2 separate regions of the Homo sapiens genome follow, and region 2 is linked to region 1. The links are contacts of gene promoters, found by promoter capture Hi-C in blood cells and fetal thymus (Javierre and others, 2016). All regions are on one chromosome and are shown on one strand. The core of a region is centred on a gene start or on the middle of the fragment in contact, and the rest is flanking DNA. Distances in the headings are between cores, read along the strand shown. Region 1 holds the start of ST8SIA3 (ST8 alpha-N-acetyl-neuraminide alpha-2,8-sialyltransferase 3). Region 2 overlaps WDR7 (WD repeat domain 7).

Region 1 (6,077 bases), core at 1,381-3,880:
CTAAAAAAACAAAACCTCAAAACCATCTTATGTGTATAAAATGAAACCGCTACAATTAGTAGGAATTAAGTTAGGTACCTTTACAGTAAGTTAAAAGCTGTAAAGACAATGAAAACAGGCAAAACCAAAACAAAACCATAGTTAAATATCTACATACATTTGGGCCAGCATTTTCACGAGTAATTTGATGGAGACAGATTATGGCATTTTCCGTGTGTTTCAAAGAAACAATACCACTTTATTCTATTTTTCAAGTTTTTTTCAGTGAGGAAATGAAAATGCATTGGGTGGTCTTTTTGCAACTAACCTTTTGTCTGTTTTTTTTTTTTAAATAGATGGCTTTGGCAGTACTTGCCAGACTTGTTAGCTGTAAATCATGGTGCTCAATCAAGCCCAAGTGGAATGCTTTTTTTTTTTTTTGCTATTCAAATTGGTCCTGATATGTCCTTTTTATGAGAGGACACTACACACACAGGAGAAGGTTCCTGATCATTGCTTTGTGCAGTCATGCCAAGAAAACAATGCAGATACACCTGATGGTGAGGGTGGGGCGTATAGATGTTTGTTGTTTTAGATGTTTTTGTTTGCTTGTTTTTGTTTTGTTTTGTTTTGAGCTCTTGAATTCTTAAAAGCACCTTTTGGATCTTTTCCTCCTATCCTACCTTTGATGTAAAAACGCTGTCCGATTAAATTTCCACTTAGAAGGTTTCTCTTGGAGTTCCTGGGTGAGAGAATTCGTAATGGGCACGAATGACGGGTCTAGAAACTTCAGCGCAAATTGTGACCTGGAGAGGAGCATGAGCACAGACAAGCGTGCTGGCCTCAGCTCGGGGAAGCCGAGGTAGCCATTAAAGTGCAGCGGCTGGGGCGAGGGCGGCTGGTACGCGTGCGGGCTCCGTTCCGTCCCGGAGCCCCTCTCATTTGGTCCACCCTCTGCTCCCACACACACCCGAGAGAAAAAAAGAAAACTAGGGAACCCCATCTGCATTGTCCATCCCTCCGGGTGCCGGAGAGACCATAAAATGGCCGTCATGCGGAGAGCAGGGCGCACGCCGGGCGCAGGGCTGGAGCCCGCGGCGCTGCGAGGACCAGGGAATCAGCACCGCGGACAGCGGCCGCCCCGCCAGCCTGACCCGCTACGCCTTTGCAGCCCCATAGAATTGTTTTTGGAGAAAGGGCAGAGGAAACCGGAGACCCAGGGAAAGTCTGGGGGTGGTTCCTGCCTTAACCTCTTCCTTCCCAAACCCACGTCCGATTTCACTTCCTATAACTTGGCTGGGGACCCCCGGGGGCCGCCGGCCTACTCCGCTCCTCGGTCCAGGCGAGGCTCCTCTGGGTTCCTCGCCTCGGTCCCAGCTTGGACCACAGGTGGCACTTTGTAGTTGCCACCTGCCCGTCAGGAGGCCCTGCTGGGAGAGTTCCCGGGGTCACAGAGCGGGGCGGGGGCTCTCGCAGAGCGGCGTCAAGCTGCGCCTGGAGCCTTCACAGGCCGGCCCAGCGCGGAGCGGTGACTCCGACCTGGCGAGGGTGGGCGGCCCTTCCGAGGCTCGCTTCCCGCAGGGGGCGGGGGAATTGCAGAAATCCCGGAAAGCTGGTGGGGGGCGGTGGCTGCGGGGGAAAGGGTTGAGAGAGAACGCCCCAGGGGCTTCCTGAGAATAAACCCGCGTGTCCTTTGATAGGCGTGGGGGAGTAAAGGAGGAGGGCGCGAGGGGAGTCCGGCGCCTGCGCCATTAAACCGCCAGCACCGCCCCGGGCCCGGCCCGCGGAGTCTGCGGACAGGGCGCGGGGAGGGCGCTCCCCTCACGCCTGTCCATCTCTGCTCGCCGCCCCCTCCCGAACAAACACACCGTCTTTCCCTCCACCCTCACCCTCCTGAAAGCCTCCCCCAACCCCCATTTCTGAAATGAGGGAAGGGATGCTGAGGAAGAATACGAGAAATGCAATCACATCGATTTGGACAGCGGCTTCTAGGGGCTTTGGGTTAAAAAAAAAATAACAGGGAGGGGGAAGGGAGAATTAGAGAGAGGAGTGGAAGGACCGCGCAGTTATCTGGCCCAAAGAGTCTCGGAGAGGCCAAAACACCCCTCCCCCACGCCTTCCCTTCCCCAAACACCCCATCAACCAAATTCCCGAGGGCACTAACACAGAGGCCCGCACTCACCGGAATCCCGCGTGGAACATGTACATTCGGGGCGCCCCCGGGCTGGCGTACTTGGGAGTGGTGAAGATGTTCTCCTTTTTCAGGGACACGTAGCTGATGAGCGATAAAATCAGCAGGGCGACGCTGAGCATGACCAGCCCCAGCACACTGGCGACCCGGGCCATTTTGCAGTTTCTCATCCCGGGCTGGGCTGGGTTCAGGGAAACCGGGGAAATCGGTCCATTGAGCGGCCAGCAGCTCGCTGGCGTGTATATATGTGTGTGTGTGTGTGTGTGTGTGTGTGTGTGTGTGTGAGCGCGCGCGCGTGTGGCGGAGGAGGGGGACCCGGGCGGGGGTGGGGGGAGGCCACCGGGGCCGGGGGTTGGGGCTGGCAGGAGCCCCGGAGAGCAGCGGGACCCCGTAGGCAGGGGCGCGCGGGGCCCGGTGCCGAGCAGGAAGATGGAGGGGCTGCGCGGCGGCGTGGCGAAGGAGCGCGCAGCGCCGTGCGTCCCCGGCCGCCGGCTCAGGCTCCCCCGCGCGTTTCCAGCGAGGCTGCCATCTCCTCCGCCGCCTGCAAGATAAATGTGATTGGAATAATGTTACAGTTCGATCTAAGCACAGGATTTAATTAATGAACTCTAATCTCCCAAATAACCGGGGGGAGGGGGTGCAGGAGAGGGAGGGAGTAGAGGGAAATGGTGGAGGGAGGGGGACTGAGGCTGCCAGGCTGCAGCCCGAGCCTACGGCCTCCCCGGCTGAGGGTGCCGGCGAGGAGGTGGCTGTGGGGAGACGGGATCCCAAACTTAGTTTAATGGACCATTCATTACTTTATAATATCACGGAATAGAGAGACAAATAACCGGATTTGCTGTCCTGGAGGGTAAACAACAGCTGGGTGCTTCTCAAAGAAGCAGGGAGGATGGTTTTTGGAAGGCAGCTATTTAAAAGCATCTCCCCTCGTTAAGGCACCGCCCCGGCCCCCTGCCCCCGCCATCCTCCCACCCCAAAGGAAGCTCCAAACAGCAACTGGGCCTGCCTGCCTCGGGAGCCCTTAAAACCTTCTTGGAATTTGCCAGAATGACTCCCCTGTGCGCCTTGTATGCCCACCACATACTTCACTTATCCCTAAAGGGTGGGTAGTGCCTAGCAAAGTTGCGAGGTGACCTGTGAGTCGGGAGGGCCTGCCTTCCTCTCCCCTTTCCGTCTTCCAGTGGATGGACAATGTGCTTGCCCCTGACTTGACTGGGCCTGTTGAAGTCAGCCCTGGTTTAACTCTCCGTTGCCCACTCTTCAGATCCATCCTTCGGGCCTGGTCTCCTGATGGGCTAGGTGGCCTGAGCCTCCCAAAAGCTGAGGCCATTAAAAAACACAGAACTTTTTATGAAGCAGCCCAAGAACCAAATAATAGAGGCTGCCTCTGAGAGTGGAAGGCAAACGCACTAACACTTTGCATTGCTTGACCTTAAATTTATTTTAGCATATTCACGTGTTTCTTGTATATCCATTAGAAATACAAATTAATCCATTTTCAGTCATGCAGTTGGGTGCTCAGGGGAAACTAGCATGTTTCTTTAGCTCTGTCCTTTGCAATTAGCTTATGGCCTCTGCTACCCTAGCTTTACTCTTCGCTTGGTCCTCCCAATACTAGTTAATAAGCACTAATGAGGGAAGCTAGGGGTGAGAAATTGGCGTTTGAGTTCTGATAAAACAAGTTGAGATTCTTCCAAGATGGTTATGACTTCTTTCTCTCCTGAACTTCTTGCCTTGTAGGCTTTCATGGACCTAATGTTATTATCTGTCTGGAGGCTGTAAATTCCTTGAAGGGGTGAGCTCCTGGATTGTAAGCTTCGGCAGAGCAAGGCTTGTCTTACTTCTCCAATACTGTCTCTTACACATGTCATGCTTGCTAAATGTTTGAAGACCTGATGAGCTCCCTTGGGAAACATATCTGTGTGGTTGTGGACAGTGGCACAAAGAATGCTCCTATTTGTTTCCAGTGACAAAGGGGGTCACTTTGCACCCACTAGAGACTTTTTAACCAAAATCTAAAAGTGTGTGTCAGGAGGACACAAATAACCTCCTTTCCTCTGTGGGGCTTTTTTATTATTTAAAAAAATTTAGAAAAGGCTTGCATGCCTGGATATGATGAACACTTGAACTGTATTTTTTTAAATTGCTATTTTTTAAAAATGATTGTATGAGTAAGGTGTAAAATGCCAAAGGGAGTAAGATCTTAAGAGAGCCATCTAGGAATGACACCTGTTAGAAAAAGTCTTCTTGAACCAGAAATCAGGAAACATGCTATGGAGAGGCAGCCTGGGGTAGTGTTACACCTTCAGACTGTGGAGCCAGAAAGACCTGACTTCAAAAGCATACTCTGGGTATTATCAAAAACACAAAAAATAACAAATGCTGGCAAGGATGCAGAGAAAAGGGAACTCGTATACACTGTTGGTGGGAATGCATTCTAGTACAGCCACTATGGAGAACAGTACAGAGGTACCTGAAAAAAACTACAAACTGAACTATTATAAGATCCAGTATTCCCATGACTGGGCGTTTATGCAAAGGAACGGAAATCAGTATGTCAAAGAGATATCTACCACCATGTTTATTGCCACATTGTTCACAATAGCCAAGATATGGATCAACCCAAGTATTCAACAACAGATGAATGGATAAAGAAAATGTGGTATATATACATAAAGGAATCCCATTCATCCATAAGTAAGAATGAAATTCTGTCATTCTCAGCAACAGGAATGAGCCTGGAGGACATTATGTTAAGTGAAATAAGCCAGGAACAGAAAGTTAAACACCGCATGTTCTCACTCATACACAGAAGCTAAAAAAGCTGATCTCAAAGAAGTAAAAAGTAGAACAGAGAATACTAGAGGCTGGGAAGTGTACGGGGGAGAGAGGATAAAATATTTATTAAAGGATACAAAATTACAGCTGGATAGAAGGAATAAGTTCTAGTGTTCTATAGCACTATAGGATGACTATAGTTACAATAATGTATTGTATATTTTCATATACCTAGAAGAGAAGATATTGAATGCCCCAAAACAAAGAAATGATACAAGTTTGAAATGACAAATATGCTAATTACCCTGATGGGATCACTATGTATTGTATGTATCAAAATATCACTATGTACCTATATATGTATGATTATTATGTATCAATTAAAATAAATGCTTACTCTGGCATCCACAGCCAGGTGACCTTGGGTAAGTTACAACTTCTCTGTGTTTCAGTCTGCTAATCTGCAGAACTGGGATAAAAATCTCCCAGGGTTTGGGGGAAGATTAAACAAAGCATATAAAGGCCTTTGCACCCTGGCCTATATTAAGCAGTTAATAAATATGAGCTAACAGCTTGGGTAAGTTTTTAGTGTCTTTTTCTCTGACCCTGTAAATGTCCTGCTACAGAGTGCATACGAAAGGATGTACTTAGGTGAGATATTTTCTTGCAGAGAATAGCAAAGATCAAGAAACTCTTCTGTTCCCTTTATAAAACAGCATTGCAGGCTTTCCTGAGACATCTGATATGGGTTCGCTCTGCCTGGATTTAAAAACTGATGTATTACTTATGCTTAGCACACCTCTGTGAACCTTCTAAAGAAAGTCCTAGGAGGACGATTTTCATATTGCATACAGGCCACTGAAGGTCACATGATGTAAAGGGACCAAATTAGCCAGAAAATAAACAGGCAGGCAGGCATCCTTATTACATGTGACAGGCTTATGGGTGAAAACGGATTGCTCAATAATTACCAGGGGAATAATTTTGGTGGCGGTGCTTCAAAAAACAACTGTAGCTACTGGATAAGGGATTTTTCAGGCCTGGGATTATAGCTATTTAATAATTAAAAAAAATCAGGACATTTTAACAAAATATCACTTATCAAATTTCATTGGAAATCAATCCTGTG
Region 2 (6,077 bases), core at 1,768-4,267, 590 kb after region 1:
TTCTCAAACCCAAATGTCTATCAAAGTTCCAATCCCCAGCTGAAGTCTTTACTTCATATAGATTATTTGGCAGCTGAACAAGTATTAGCCAACATGCAAGTGACAGCTTATTGAAAAGACGCATATTCATGTTTGCAATACAACTTAAAAAGACATTGTAAGTCAATGTGCACAGTAGAGGAAGTCAGGAAATAAAAAACATAAGAGGAAAATGTTTAGAAGCAAACCAAGCTAAGAAAAGCCAAAGTAGAAAGATGAAAAAATAATGCTCTAACTGCTGAAATATTAGACAACTCAGAGTCCTTTGTATCTCTTACCACTTCCAACCCTAAATTGGTTATTTATGTTCATGTTACCGACTAGACACATACTACTCAAGAGAGTACATGTCAGACCAATCTCTCTAACCTCCCTAACAAGAGTTGTTAGGAGACAAAAATAACTTAATATTTTTGAGAAAACAATTAACACTATATATTTATTTCAATATTAAAATAGAAAGTGAGCTTCATAATGGTATTCTAAAGTATTTTACTATGTAGCTCTCTCTCAGTAGGAACTGCTGGCCTTCATTTACTTTAGAAGAAAAGTATATATGCTTTCCAAATGAAAATTCCTAAATCTATTGCCTTAAATAAATGCTTTTTTTTAAAAAGACCCAATTTTCAAAGCCGCCTTCACTGCTCTCAAAACTCAATGCTTTTCTGAGAGAAGCAATATTAAAGTATTCGAACTTTAAAAATCTTCAGACTTGACCAGGTGAGCAAATCTAACACCATCATGGTGGTGAATATATAATGCATCATGACAATGTCACAAATTATATGAGAATGTTTCCATCTATTATGATTACAGAGAAGGAAAAATGTAATTCAAGAAGAATCACCAACTGTTAAGAATCATAATGAAGATGATGAGGAGGATAACAAATAATATCTCTAACAGAAATAAATATTGAATCGTCCCACCATTGATTCGTTGAGTATATCCTGGAAAATATTGTCAATGAATTCAGAAAAATAAAACATATACTGTTGCAGAAAAAGCACGGGATCTAGAGTTAAAAAGTGCTGGTTGTGTCCTAATCATACTACCATTACTAAGAATACATTAAACAAGTCCCTTGCCAGTATAAGCCTGTTTCCATTTCTACCAGTAATAACACTCTAAAAATATCACAACTCCATATATACAAATAATATTTACTTTATAAAATAATAGATATTTGGAACATTTTTAAATAAAGGGAAAGGAACTTCCACTTCTGGCCAAGATGGAGTAACAAGAAACAGATTTGCAGTCAGGCCCAAAACAACCAAAAACAAACAAACAAAATGACAAAATGTATGAACAATGGTTTTCAAGCCACTGGGCATCATGCAATGAAGGACTGAGAGATGGGAGACAAGCAACGTGAGCCCTGTGATCCTATGATTACCCCAGCTTATTGCCTTAAGAGAGTTCCTAGGTGAAGCTACATGGAGAACAAAGTGAGCAGCCCAGCAGTTTCCCTGAGTTCAGGAGACAAAGCTGAGAGTCTCAGGAAACCAGGGCAGCTAGAATTCAATGTACAGAAAGAAGGGAGCTGCAAAGATCAAAGTTCTTCAGAGGATCTCCCTCAAGTATACAGCAGAATACCAATCAGTACATGTCTGTAAAGAAACTACTCGAGCTGGGGGGAAAATATCTAAAGGACCAGAAACAGTGCCTGCTCCCAACAGCCTAAATGGAAAACCTCATAATTCACAGGGCATTGGATATTCTGGAAGGTTTGGCCTCAGTAATAGGGAGTAATTCATCTTAGAGCACTGCTCCAAATCCACCTAACAAGTCATAAAAGCAAGACCAGGAAAAAAAAGAAACTGTTTCCACATGACATAACTGCATCCCACAACAAAGCTCAAGATTTTTAAGAACACAAAAGTGTCCAGCACCCAAACAGGCAAAATTCAAACATCTCCCATCTATTCTAAGATTATCAAACACGCAAAGAGGCAGGAAAGCACAGTCCACAAGGAGGAGAATAATTAATTTAAACCAACCCAGAACTGACAGAGCTATCAAAATTATCAGTGAAGGGTGTTAAAACATTTATTATAACTGCAATCCATGTATTCAAAGCAGTTAGGTAGAGACAAGGAAAAAAAATTTTAAGACCCAAATCAAAATTCTGGGGACACATATAACAATGTCTGAGATTAAAAGTGAATTGGATGACAGCTGGGCATGGTCACTCATGCCTGCAATCCCAGCACTTTGAGGGGGCCAAACAGGGAAAATTGCTGCAGCCTGGGGGTTCAAGACCAACCTAGGCAACATAGCGAGACACTGTCTCTATAAAAAAAAATAAAAATAAATTTTTAAAGTGCACTGGATGGGACCAATGGCATATTACACATTGCTGAGAAAAGACTAATAAACTTGAAGACATTGCAATGGAAACTATCTCAATCAAAACACAGAGAGGAAAAATAATCCCGAAATAAAAGAGCACCGTGATAGGTGAAACAACTTCAATCAGCCTAACGTACATGTAATTTCAGTCCCTTAGAGAGAGGAGGGAGGAAAGGGCAGAATGAATATTTGAAGAAATAATTATTGAAAATTTTTCAAAATTAATAAACTCAATGAACCCCAACCACAAGAAACATGAAGAACACTACACTGAAGAACCACACAATCAAACTGCTCAAAACCAGTGATAAACGGAAAATCTTAAAAGCAACAAGATTAATAAAGTAATGTTACAGTCAGAGGAACAAAGATAAGAATGCTATCAGATCTTGTTAGAACTAATGCAAACAAGAAGACAACAGAATATCATCTTCAAAGCATTAAAAGATATAAAAAGTCAACCTGGAATTCTATACCAGAAAAAAAAAAAAGCTTTCAAAAACAAAGACAAACAAAGATGTTTTCAAATGTACAAAAACTTGAAGAGCAGACGCTCACTAAAAGAAAGATTAGCATGCAGGGCTTAAAACCTAGATGACAGCTTGATAGGTACAGCAAAACAACATGGCACATGTGTATCCATGTAGCAAACCTGCACGTTCAGCACATGGATCCCAGAACTTAAATAAATAAATAAATAGATAGATAGATACATACATACATACATATATACATACATAAAAAGAAAGCTTAAAGTAAGTCCTTTTGTTAGAAGAATTTTACCAGATAGAAGTCTTGATCTACACAAAGGAATGTAGAATACCAAAAAAGGTAACTACGTGGGTAAATATGTATTTTTTCTTATTTCAGTCTCTTTAAAATATAATTACTGTTAAACACAAATCACAAGAATAATTTGTGAGGTTTATAACATATATAAAAGTAAAATGCAGGACAACAGTAGCATAAAGACCAGGAGATGAGAAATGCTAATATAATATTATAAGGTTTAACATTTATATTAAATGTTAAATAGTATAATAGCACTTGAATGTACACTGTGATAACGGAAAGACATAGACTACAGACTCTAAAAAAACTACTAAAATAATAAAAATTAGCTTATAAAGCCATAAAGGAGATCAAATGGAATCATAAAAAAAATCTTTTTAGTCTAAAAGACAGCAGAAAAAGAAAAAGAACAAAAAATAAATGCAACGAAGAGAAAAATAAGGTAGTAGGATAACAGATTCAAACCTAACCATATCAACAATCACATTAAATGTAAACGGCTTATGCATCTCAAGTAAAAAGCAGGTCAGATTGGATTAAAAAATAAGACCCACTATATGCTGCCCACAAGAAACACATCTTAAATATAAAGAGCCAAATAGGTAAAAAGTAAAAGGATGAGAAAAGATTATACTATGTTAACAGTAGCCAAAAATGCTGAAATTACTGTATTATTATAAACAAAGTAAATTTCAAAGCAAAGGACATTACCAAGGATAAAGAAGGTCATTTCATAATGACGAGGGTCAAATAATCAAGAAGAAATAAAAATTCCAAAGGTTTATGCACCTAATAAGAGAGCTTCAAAATACATGAAGCAAAAACTGGGATAGAAATGCAAGAAGGAATAAACAAACCCATAATTATAGCTGCAGATTCAATACTCTTATTTAATTGATAAAGGCAAGCAGGCAGAAAAATCAGCAAGTATATACTAAACTTGAACACGGGCAACTTGACCTGACTGACAGTTATAAAATATTCCACCCAACAACAGCAGAATACACATTCTTCTGAAGTACACACAGTATATTTACCAAGACAGACTATATTTTGGGCCATAAAACAAGTCTCAATAAATTCAAAAGGATTCACATTGTATAACATGGAGACTATAGTTAGTAACAATGTATTATATACTTAAAAATTGCTGAGGGAGTAATTTTAAGTGTTCTCAACACACATAAAATGATACATATATGAGGTCATAGATATGTTAATTAGCTAGATTTAGCCATTCCACAATGTACACATGTATCAAAACATCATGTTGTACACTATAAATGTACGCAATGTTATTGGCCCATATATAAACACAATCAATTGAAACAAATGCCAAAGGATTCAAACCACACAAAATATAGTATCTGACCATAAAATGAAAACCAGTAACAGACAGATCCTAGGAAAATCCACAAGTGTTTGGAAATTATATTAACTGATTACTAAATTATCCATGGGTAAAAGAAAAAAATCAAAAGGAAAATTAAAAGTACAATATGGCAAAGTGTGTGTAATGCCACTAAAATAATACTTAGGGGAAAATTTGTAGCATTGAATGCCTATATTAGAAAAGGAGAAAGGTTTTAAATCAATGATCTCAGCTTTTACCTTAAGAAATTAAAAATATAAGAGCACATTTAAAATAGAAAAAATAAATAATAATCAAATCAAAAACCAGTGAAATAGAAAAATAATAGATATCAATGAATAGAAGGCTAGTTCTTTGAAAAGATCCATAAAATTGCTAAACTACAAGACAGACTGATCAAGAAAAAGGGAAAAAACATAAATTATGAATAACAGAAATGAAAGAGTGAATATAATTTCAAATCCTACAAATATGATAGTAAAAGCAAAATAAAAGATTACACACAACTTTTTGCTGATAAATTTGACACAAATGATCAAAGTTCACCCAAGTAGACATTTTTGAAAACAAGCAGAATAGCCCTATATCTATAATACTTTTAAATCCGTAGTTAAAAACCTTCCCATAAAGAAAACCCCTGGGCTTTCACTAGTGAATTAGATCAACCAAATATGGAAGAATTATCAACCTACACTCACCCGTCCAGAAAATACAGGGAAAGGGGCTACTTCCTAATTCATTCTGTGAGGCCAGCATTATCCTATCAGCAAAACTGGACAAAGGCATTAATAGAAATGAAAACTAAAGACCAAACTTCCTCATGAACTTACACATGAACACCCTTAACAAAATTTTAGCAAATTGTACCTAACAAACTATAAAATTGGTAATTCAAAATGTGGTCTATATTGCAAGGTTGTTTTAAAACTTAAAAGTCAATATACTTTGTCTTATTAAGAAAATAAAAGACAAAAATCAAATAATCATTTCAATAGATGCAGAAAAAACATCTGAATAAAATCTAACATCTATTCATAATTTTTAAAATCTCGACAAACTAAGAATAGAATGGAACTTTTTCAACCTGATAAAGAACATCGAAGAAGGCCAGGCGTGGTGGCTCACGCATGTAATCCCAGCACTGTGGGAGGATCACGAGGTCAGGAGCTCAAGACCATCCTGGCTAACACGGTGAAACCCTGTCTCTACTAAAAATACAAAAAATTAGCTGGGCGTGGTGCGGGCGCCTGTAGTCCCAGCTACTCAGGAGGCTGAGGCAGGAGAATAGCATGAACCCAGGAGGCGGAGCTTGCAGTGAGCTGAGATCGCGCCACTGCACTCCAGCCTGGGCGACAGAGCCAGACTCCATCTCAAAAACAAAACAAAACAAAAAAACAAACAAACAAAAAAAAAACTTTATTCGTAGGCAACCCAAGGTAAAAAAAAAAAAAAATTCTTACTAAGGTAAGAAAAATTGGACAAAAGATATAAATAGGCATTTCGCCAAAATGGACATATG

Evidence for each region. Contacts are between HindIII fragments. The CHiCAGO score rates a contact against its expected background, and 5 or more counts as called.
Region 2: a fragment that was not itself captured here is called in contact with the fragment with the promoter of ST8SIA3 in region 1 in 2 of 17 cell types (endothelial precursors and M1 macrophages); the score reaches 5.5 in endothelial precursors.

Annotation. Positions count from the first base shown.
Region 1 is chr18:57,349,110-57,355,186 of GRCh38, reverse strand. It overlaps ST8SIA3 (ST8 alpha-N-acetyl-neuraminide alpha-2,8-sialyltransferase 3), which reads right to left and starts at 2,630. Exons shown (of 4, transcript NM_015879.3): 1 at 2,162-2,630; 2 at 663-785. The coding sequence starts at 2,340. The HindIII fragment of the contact is 6,120 bases long and covers 1-3,987 here.
Region 2 is chr18:56,762,832-56,768,908 of GRCh38, reverse strand. The region is part of intron 16 of WDR7 (WD repeat domain 7); the gene reads right to left. Among named protein-coding and RNA genes, the nearest start is that of WDR7, 110 kb to the right of the region's middle. The HindIII fragment of the contact is 257 bases long and covers 2,889-3,145 here.